2 separate regions of the Homo sapiens genome follow, and region 2 is linked to region 1. The links are contacts of gene promoters, found by promoter capture Hi-C in blood cells and fetal thymus (Javierre and others, 2016). All regions are on one chromosome and are shown on one strand. Each heading gives the region's core, a stretch centred on a gene start or on the middle of the fragment in contact. The rest is flanking DNA. Distances are from core to core; before and after follow the strand shown.

Evidence for each region. Contacts are between HindIII fragments. The CHiCAGO score rates a contact against its expected background, and 5 or more counts as called.
Region 2: a fragment that was not itself captured here is called in contact with the fragment with the promoter of ODF2L in region 1 in 4 of 17 cell types (non-activated CD4 T cells, fetal thymus, total CD8 T cells and 1 more); the score reaches 7.5 in non-activated CD4 T cells.

Annotation. Positions count from the first base shown.
Region 1 is chr1:86,393,488-86,398,840 of GRCh38, forward strand. ODF2L (outer dense fiber of sperm tails 2 like) reads right to left here and starts at 2,836. Exons shown (of 17, transcript NM_001366781.1): 1 at 2,546-2,836. RefSeq lists an enhancer at 2,761-2,810. The HindIII fragment of the contact is 6,956 bases long and covers 620-5,353 here.
Region 2 is chr1:86,916,184-86,921,536 of GRCh38, forward strand. All of the region lies in intron 1 of HS2ST1 (heparan sulfate 2-O-sulfotransferase 1), which reads left to right. Among named protein-coding and RNA genes, the nearest start is that of HS2ST1, 4.2 kb to the left of the region's middle. The HindIII fragment of the contact is 4,042 bases long and covers 1-3,632 here.

The sequences.
Region 1 (5,353 bases), core at 1,586-4,085:
GAGATTAGATTAGATAACAAATTAGTAATCCCTCTCTCCAATGAAAAAAGAAGGATGTATATTTAAAAGATGGGCTGCAGACTGGATAATATAGGAAGAAGAGTTGACAGCAAGAGTGACTGTTCTGTAAACACGGCATGTACTTCAAAGCCAACATTCCATTTCCTTCTCAAAGTGTTGCCCTGATTTCTCCAGCCCATCAAGAACTCTAAACAAAAGTATTTTCAGAATCATATAGTTTAGAATTTAACTGCTCCATAAATGCTCATATTTTAGTTCTCTTTTAAACTTGCTATTAACTGTGAGGACAAATAATACGCATCACTCTCTGCCCTAAAAAATTACCTAACACAGTGGGGAGCATAGATTAGGTTCTCAAATATAAGTTAGGGTGACTAAATTATTTACTGTTTAAACTCGGACACTTTTGAGTGTCCATATAGAGCCCAATTACCCGGAAAAAGACCTGGCCAAAGATGTTCAGAATATTGTCTAATCCCAAATAAAGTCACCATCCTGTACCAGACAAACATAAAGCATATTCCTTTCCTTCAACACGACAGCTGTTGCCATTTACTGAGCAGAGCACTGACTGACCTTATAAACATCATCTCACAAAAGCTTCACAAGGTTGTTATTAAAAAGCTATAAATAAGTAAATTAAATCTTAGAAGGGTTAAATAGCTTGTCCAAGATTACAAGTAAGGAATTGGTGGAACTCAGTTTTGAATTAAAAGCCATGAGATGGTGAAACCGCATCTCTACTAAAAATACAAAAATTAGCTAGGCGTGGTGGTGGGCACCTGTAGTCCCAGCTACTCGAGAGGCTGAGGCAGGAGAATCACTTGAACCCGGGAGGCGGACGTTGCAGTGAGCCGAGATCGCGCCACTGCACTCCACTGCGGCAGAGCGAGACTCCATCTCAAAAAAAAAAAAAAGCCATGAGATACTAAAACATAAATATAAAAATCTACAAAGCAAAAAGTAACACACAAACTTGCCTTTATTCAGTCAGGTTTTAATACTCATAAGTTCAATTTAGATTCAAAAGATGAAAACTGTTCTGGACAAGGAAATGAGTGATGAATGAGCTAGCTAAAAGCACAGACTACAATTCTAAAGAGAGAGAGCAGACCGCGACCAGATCACTAAATTCCATTGTTCTAAAGTTTGTCACAAGGAACTTTTGGGATAGAAAAACTACACTATAAATACACATCCATTGTGAAATAAGAAGATGAAAAAGAGAAGCAAAAAGCAAATCATAAACATGATCATGACATTCTTACTATAAGCAGAATATCAAACTAATTTCAAAAGCAGACAGGTTTTCTGCAGTTTGTTTCTTTTTCCTTTTTTTTTTTTTTTTTTGAGACAGAGTCTCGCGCTGTCGCCCAGGCTGGAGTGCAGTGGCGCGATCTCGGCTCACGGCAAGCTCCGCCTCCTGGGTTCACGCCATTCTCCTGCCTCAGCCTCCCGAGTAGCTGGGACTACGGGCGCCCGCCACCACGCCCGGATAACTTTTTGTATTTGTTTTAGTAGAGACGGGGTTTCACCGTGTTGGCCAGGATGGTCTCGATCTCCTAACCTCGTGATCCGCCCGCCTCGGCCTCCCAAAGTGCTGGGATTACAGGCGTGAGCCACCGCGCCCGGCCCGGTTTGTTTCTTTAACCTTAACTCAGTTGCACTTAAAACTCCAAGAACCTCATTCATTCAAAAACACTTGAAACCGTACTATGCGTTGCGTGATGAGGAAACTGTCTTCGAAATAGATTTTATCCCCAACAGCAGCCCCAGTATGGTTATTCTCAGTAAACAACAAGCACCACCACTCACTAACCACCTACATTCGGTGCCACCTTAATGGCCCTGCGTTTACTTAATCTCGTATTACAACCACCCCAAAGTGATGATTACTGTTACAGTTATCAGTAAGGAATCCAGGAAGGTTCAGTGACCTAGACAAGGCCACACAGCGGGTTCAGTGGCAGAGCTGGGACTGAACACAAGTCGGCCTTTAGCACTCTCCACGACCCTAGGTCAATCCCGCACTACAGGGGTCGCCTATAGGGGCTGGAACCTAGAGGAATCCTGGAGAAGGAATTATTTCCTGAGGATTCCTGTAATATACCTCACTTACGAAGCCCCCAGGGCTTCCTACAATCTGATATATCACATGATGGGCGATTAAAAACCAGCCCAATGATTAAGAGGTCACTATTTCTGAAAGAAATGCAACCATATCCAGGAACGGCCCGGTCAGGACTTCGTTCTGCACAAGCCCACCTCACGCTAACATTTGCCCTGATGTCCCGGGGACCACACCCTTCCTAAGAGTGAGTCTCGCCGCCCTTTTCCCAGGCCAGGTAGTCAGCCTGAGGGAGGTGGAGGGTTTGCGCGGAGGGGGCTGGGTGGGCGCGAGGGCCTTTTACTTCCGGGACCCACCACTGCCCTCACCTCCAGACCGCTAAGGGCTCCCGCGGTAAACGCCCAGCAGCAGCTAGGCTCCCCACAAAGTCGCCCCCAACCCAAAAGGCGTACTTACGCCCCCGCCGCTGCGTCCGCACGTCGTCGTGACGACAGCCCGCCGTCGCCGCGATATAAAAAAAGGGTCAGAGGCGCCACGGCTGCTGCAATGGAAACCGTGGCAATCCTTCTTGTGCTCTGAGTCGGCTAGGAGGGAGCGGGACGCAGGGGGCACTACAGTGGGTAGACTAGGAAGGAAGGCAAGGGACGCGAGGTGGGAACCAGGCGAATTCCTAGACCTGCTTGCCGCAGAAGAGTGCCCGCTCAAGTGGAACAAAAGCGCAGCTAGTAACCGGCTAGTGGCTTCTCTGGCAACGGCGGCCCCACCCCTCCCGTCAGGCCCGCAGCAGGCTGCCGATTGGTCCGGGTTAGGGACGGCGGGCAGCGCCTATAGCTATTGGAGAGGGTGAGGAACGGGGCAGGGAGGGCAGCTTCGTGTCTATCCTTGTTTCTCGGGTAAACATTTTTTTTTAAGCGTTTGTTTATGGACAAGGACAGCATTTGTGTACGTTACCGAAAATCATAACCGAGCCCAACTAGAAAAAAAGGAAATAAAGCCAATTCCGAGTTTTCTGGCGCTTGGCCTGGTTGTGCCCTGCTTTTGCTTTTTAAAGAGAAGATTTGAAAACGTGAAGGCAACTGCGACCGGAAGAAACCTCCTTTTAAATGTATAGTAGTATTTTTAGCTGAGATGCCTCCCTGGGCCTCAGGTTTTTTCCTGTTAAATGAGGAAGCCTGAGGATGTTCTGCAAGGTGCCTTCAGGGTCTCAAAGTCTTTCGTATCTGTGCCACAGCCAGCTGGTCTGGTTTATAAAGTCCTGAAGAAGCAAAGCAAGATTTTAATTGGAAAAATATCTTCATTCAATGCCTCTACTTAATATTCATGTTAAGAATCGTACACCAACCTATGAAGTTCACAAGTAGAGTAACTGTCAACTAAGCCATAACCGTGGCATGCTGCTACCTAAATAATTGGTTTCACTAAAGCACTCCAGCAATGTTTTTCCACCAGTACTGTAATTGTCCCTTTCATAATTTAAAGCGGGAGACAGAATTAGTAAATTTTTTAGTAAAGGGCCAGTGATATGGTTAGGCTCTGAGTCCCCGACCACATCCCATCTTGAATTGTAATCCCCATAATCCCCACGTGTCAAGAGAGAAACCAGGTGAAGGTAATTGAATCATGGGGGCAGTTCCATAATCCCCACGTGTCAAGAGAGAGACCAGATGAAGGTAATGGAATCATGGGGGCCGTTTACCCCCATGCTAGTGAGTTCTCAAGCTATCTGATGGTTTTGTAAGGGGCTCTTTCCCCTCCACTGGGCACTTCTCCTTAACGAAGAAGGTGTCCTGCTTCCCCTTCACCTTCCGTCATGATTGTAAGTTTCCTGAGGCCTCCCCAGCGACGCTGAACTGTGAGTCAATTAAACCCCTTTCCTTTATAAATTACCCAGTCTCAGGCAATTCTTTATAGCAGTATGAAAATGTGCTCATACAGCCAGATAATATTTTATTAATAGGTTTTGCAGGTCATATGGTCTCTGTGATACTATTTAACTCTGCCATTGTCTTACCAAGAAAAGCCATAGATGATACATAAACATAAACATATGAGCTCACTAAAGTACGTTTGTGTGCAGGATGCAACACTACAGTGTTGGGTAGAAATTGTGATTTCTATCTTCATGGCAACAAATGGGGACTAGAATGTAAAAATAGCAGGCAATGAAATAGAATAAAGATACTTGAATACAAATAATACTTCAAAATTAAAAAGCAACATTTTAGATAACCTGTTTGCAGAGGACAAACAGAAGGTTAAATGAAAGTGTGATGGAGAATCACCACCTTTACATCTTTGCACTCTTTAATAGTGCCACTAATCACTGGAATTCCCCTAGGACTATGGTATTGCCTTTGGTTTAATCTTTTAGTAGATAAGGGCAGTTCCAAAGGCTTCCACTTTGTCTTCCTATTATAATAGCCATGAGTCAAAAAGCCAATGTCAAGATGCTGTAAATCTCCTTTAAGGTTATGACATTCAGGTCTCTTCATTAGTTCTGGTAAATTTTTTGCTGTACAAATTAAGTAGAATCTTAGCAGACTATCCATTTCAATTATAGGGGCAGTGATTAATTATCAACTCCTAAAGATCCCCCTTAGTCAAACAATATGATACACCCTGCTGGTATCATGGTATCAACAGATATCTCATCTCTGATGGCTCAGTGGTATCACTTGGCCTCTATCACTTTGGGATCTTACTATTTCCATTAGGGAATTAGGGATTTCATGCAATGGCAGCATCTTTATCCCCAGGCTTATAGAATAGCAGCTACAGAGCTTTTAAAGGATTCTGGCATTCCCTATATTTTCTCAATGCTTTAGTAAAAAGAAGGTCCTTTGGCCCTCTCAGAACACCTTTGAAAGGAGATGACTGGGTAACATATGATAAATCCATTCATACAGTACTATTCCCTAAGTCTTCTTTAAAAATTGATACATACTAGATGTACATATTTTCAGGGTACATGTGATAATTGGATACATTTATATGAATGTGTAATGTGTAAAGATCAAATCAAGATAGTCAGGATATCCATCACCTTAAATATTTATCTTTATGCTATGAACATTCAAATTGTTCTCTTCTAGTTATTTTGAAATATACAATAGATTATAGTTAACTATAGTCACCCTACTTATCTGTCAAACACTGGGTCTTATTTCTTCTATCTAACTGTATGTCTGCACTCATTAATCAACCTCTCTTCGTTACCCCTTTCCCTAAGTCTTTTAATTCAATCCTCTAAAATCAAGAGATTTC
Region 2 (5,353 bases), core at 362-2,861, 520 kb after region 1:
AAATTTTGATTTAAAAATGTACATGGCACTTAAAAATCAGCTCAAGAGGATGTAATTTGAATATGGAAAAGTAATGTGAAGTGTTTTTTGCATACTCTCACCTCAAAATCATTTTAAATACCTTTTGAGAAGCCAGCAAAAACAAAAACAAAAAACCCTCAGCAGTGTAATTTAGACTAAGAAATAGATGTTACTGTGAGTGGATGATTAATTTTTAGGAAAAATGTACCAGAAAATAATTGTAATATTATGTATAGTAGCTATTTTGGTACAAGGCTTTGCAAAAGCCTTGACATTTTAAAGAGCCTTGAAAGAAAAACCATCAAGTAAATCTGAGTGAAGTGCAACTAAAGTTGGAGGAAAACTAGAGTTACTTCCAGCCCTCAATTCTAGAGTAAAATTTGAAGAGATACTCAGTTTATTTACGAATTCCTTTATTAATATGTATCTTGTGTGGTGGAAAAAAATGTCCACTTTAAATATTGAAGGTTATCCAGTCTGGTTTTTCTTTTCTTTTGGATCCATTTAGCGACATTCAGGGTCATATTCTGGCGTTATTAATGATCCAGCTCTACAGAAAAAAAGACTCCTCTTGAAGTGGAAAGTTATATTAAAATTAAAATTTGTACTTATTTTTTGTTTTGTTACTATTTGGAATTGTCTGGAGTTGATTTCTTAGACACGTTACAGTGGGTTAGAATGACTTAAATTTTTGATTTTCCTCCTTTCCTAACATTTCTTTCCCCATATACTTGAAAATTGCTTCCATAGACACAATCTGAATGATTTTTAAAAGAAAGTTATCTGAAGATGTATAATGCCACAGTTAAAATATAAAGTGCTTTCTTGTGATACAAGAAAGAAAATTTCATAAAAAGTAGTAAATATGCATCAAAATCCTCCTGGGACTACAGATGGGTATACCTGGGAGTACAGGTGGGTGTTACCATGCCTAGCAGAGGAAACCATATTTTGACAACCATATTCTGTACTAGGCACTTTTCATCGTAGATACTCGTGTTTAAAGTAAGAACACCATTTAAAGCCATTTTTGACCAGACACGGTGGCTCACGCCTGTAATCCCAGCACTTTGGGAGGCCGAGGCCGGCGGATCATTTGAGGTCAGGAGTTCGAGACCAGCCTCGCCAACATGGTGAAACCCTATCTCTACTAAAAATACAAAAATTAGTCGGGCGGGGTGGCGGGCGCCTGTAATCCCACCTACTCAGGAGGCTAAGGCATGAGAACCGCTTGAACCTGGGAGGCAGAGATTGCAGTAAGCCAAGATCACACCACTGCACTCCAGCCTGGGCAATAGAGTGAGACTCAGTCTCAAAAAAAAAAAAACCAAAGAACAACAGAAAGCCATTTTTGCAGATGCAGGAACAGGCTTAGAGAGGTTATATAACTTGCCCAAGACCACATCGCATTTAAGTGGCAGAGCCAGGATTGCAACCCAGGTATGTATGATTCCAAATCAAGTGCTCCTTTAATTATGTCCGGCTGCTTAAGACTTTATATTGACATTACGCTGAGATTTAGGTATTTGAATAGAGTTTTAAAATTGTAATATCAGTGTTTAATTGCATTTATTGCTAAGAATGAATATCATTCAGAGAAAATTGAATTTCTGATACAAAGGAATTGGTTTAATGTAACGTCTGCCCCTTGTTTAGATTCATGTAATGAACATAATTATGTTACCCAATGAAACAACTGAATTAGATAGCTTATTTTTACTATAGGAAAGAAAAATCTAGCTGTTTTCCATACGTGCAAAATCACAATGTTAAAAAAGCATTTTTATTTTGGCATAAAAAACCTATTAAACATTTTGTCCTTAAAAGTAGTTATTATCATTTTCATTGTAGAAGATTCCAAAGGATAGTATTGTCTGATAGTGGCTTTAATATACCTTGATTTGAGAGTACAGTATTTTGATGGTGAGACTTCTAATAGAGCAATAGATGTATTCAAAACTGAGGTGTACTCATTGACTACTTGGGAAATTCACTAATTAGGAATTCCTAAAAAAAAAAATTCAGTAATACAGCTTTTTATTTTTATTTTTTAAAAAACAAATATGGCATTGTAGTCCACATATTACAATGCGGCTTGCTTTTTTTGCCTTGAATGTTATACACATCTTTCCAGGTCAGTACATATAGATGTGACTTACTCATTCTATTAATAATAGCTGTATAATATTCCAAAGTATGCATGTATCATAAATTATTAAGCCATTATTCTAGTAACGGACATTCAGTTTGTCCCCCATCTGTCGTGTGTGTGCGTGTGTATATATACATATATATATAATTTTTTTGAGTGTTTCTTTTCTTTCTTGGTATTATAAACAATTATAGGAAACATCCTTATGTGTCCGTTTAACTCATGTTGATGTCATTTTGTGCTAGGATGAATTCTGTATGTGAGATTGCTGGGACAAAGAATATACATATTTTATAATTTAACAGATTTAAAAATCTACTTTTCAACATTTTTTTGTTTTTCAAAAGATGTAGTAATCTACACTGCCAGCACACATTCATTAGCACTAGAAGATAATCAGCTTTTAATTTTTGCCAGTGTGAAGCTGTGAAATGATATATTCAATTAATTTACCTTCTAATTTCTAGGTAGGTTGAACATCTTTACATGTTTATTGCCCTTTTATTTGTTACTTTTTTCTATTTTTCTATTGGGTGGTTTACTTTTTTTTTTAAATATTAGAATTAGTAATCCTTTATCTATCCTATGTCTTTTTTAAATTTTTTTTATTTTTATTTATTTATTTATTTATTTATTTTTTTGAGATGAGCCTTGCTGTCACCCAGGCTGGAGTGCAGTGGCACGATTTCGGCTCACTCCTGCCTCAGCCTCCCAAGTAGCGGGGATTGCAGGTACGTGCCACCACGCCCAGGTAATTTTTGTATTTTTAGTAGAGACAGGGTTTCACCATGTTGGCCAGGCTGGTCTTGAACTCCTGACCTCAAGTGATCTGCCCCCCTCTGCCTTCCAAAATGCTGGGATTACAGGCATGAGCCACTGCACCCGGCCTCTTATTTGTTTTTGTCCAAGTTTGCCATTTGTTTCTTGACTTTATGGTGTGTTTTGCTCATATAGAAGTTTTAAAATACACACAGTTAAATCTATCAATTTAGGGAAGTCGTTTTCATATTTTGCTTAGGAAGACTTACCCAGAGCCAGGATTGTGTACATTTTCTGTATTTTATTATAGTATTTTATAGTTTATTACATTTGGCTCTTTAAACCATTTGTATGTTTACAGAGATTTATCATGATTTTCTCAGTAAATCATTTTTTCCAACTGTATGTTAACATTCCTTCTTTTAATCACATACTAAGTTTTCATATGTTCTTGGATCAATTTTGGATGCTATTTTCCATTAATCAGAGATTCTTTAAACCTCGGGGACCCATAAATAGGCTTCAAGGTATCAGTGAATTCCCTGAAATTATATACATAACTTTCATCAGATTTGCAAAGGAGTATGTGATTCCTTTAATGGCAAGGATCACAGATTTATAGTAGATGTTTCATATTTAGTGGACTTTTTTTTGTTTTTAGTAACATAACGTGCAGATTGTGAGTTAAATTTAGGAGATAAGCTTATTACCTGTGAAAAAGAGAAGTTTTTCAACTTCAAATGAAGTTAATACTTCATTGTATTAAAATGTAGACTTAATTTTCTAGTGAGAAATGGAAAAGGACAGGGAATCCAAATGAAAACTATTTAACTGTGACTCGTTACTATAAAATGTCAGAATTTGTGGCTGGTAAAAAGTAGTTCTTCCCGAATTTCAAGAGCGCACTTGTTGCTAATATTGACTGGTCGAACAGTGCAGTGAAATATTTTCTCACATAAGTGATAGAACTATGTGCTTGGTAACTTTATTTTCTATAGGGTTTTAGCATTGTAAATAATATTTGTTGACTGTATTCTTACATCTCTATATGGATTTATGAGCACATTAGGAATAATCTTTTACATGGGGAAAATAATTGAGAATGGATTATGTAATCATCCATTGGTGAGAATTAATGTTAGTCATTATGTTCTTAAAACTCTACTAGACTAAACAACTAATTCCAGGGCCAAGGTTGAGACTGCTTTTTGGAATTTGGTAGTTTTTACAAGTAAGTTCCTGAAACCATGCAGCAATACCTGTAAGATGTTCCAGAGAATGCTAGATTTCCTCACTTCTGAAATCATTTGGAAAACCTCATAGTAGCTACTGTTTTGAGGACTTTGGGTTAATAGGAATACAGTTATTCTAGAATTGGTAATTGGTGCCTCACTTAGTCTTGAATAGGATGTCTAGTGCCATGGAGTAGTCACCTGAAATAGTTGATCTCAATTAAGATAATTCCAGGATGTCTGTCCACCACTCTGGTAGGCCTTCTAATAGCTTTTTGGCACTTAGAGAAATTGAAATAATAATGAATGTTCAAAGATTGCTCTCCAGAAGACCATTTTTGAAGGATGTACTTATAGATGAACTTCATAATCATGGTTCACTATAGCCTAGTTATTTTTAAGATCTACCCACCTACCAGTACCTGTACTTACGTATTCTGCCTTTCTGCCTGTTAACAATAGATGGTAACTGTCAGTGCTCCTGTTCGGTCATTTGTGCACCTGATTCTGTTGCCTCACTTACCTAAAGACATGGTTCCCGAAGCTTTCCCTCATTCTCCTGTCACAATGTATTCTTGAAAATTGCTAAGAGAGTGGATTTTAAGTGTTTTCACCATACCAAAAAAAAAAGTATGTGAGGTAATGCATGTTGTCTTAATTAGCTTGATTTAGCCATCCATGATATATACATGTTTTAAAACATGTTGTACATGATAAATATATACAGTTTTGTCAATTACAAATAAAAAAAAACTATCTTGGTAAATGTTCCAGGTGAACGTGAAAAATATGTATTCTGTTGTTATTGGCTGAAGTATGCTGTAGATGTCGGTTGGTAGTATTGTTATGGTGTTTTGTATTCTTGATTTTTTTCTGCCTCTTCATCAGTTATGGAGAGGGGTTTTGAAATCTTTGATAATTGTGGATTTGTCTGTTTTTCTTGTAGTTATGTCACTTTTTGCTTCATGTATTTTGAAGTGCTGTGATTAAGTATATGCACATTTAGGCTGTCATGTCTTCTTGATGGACCAACCCTTTTTTTTATACAAGATACCATCTTTATCCTTGGTAATATTCTTTGCTCTGAAACCTACTGCTGTGGTGTTAATGTCTCCCCCAAAATTCACATGTTGGAAACTTAATCTCCGATGCAACAGTATTGGGGCGGGAGGTGGAGGGTGTTTAGGTG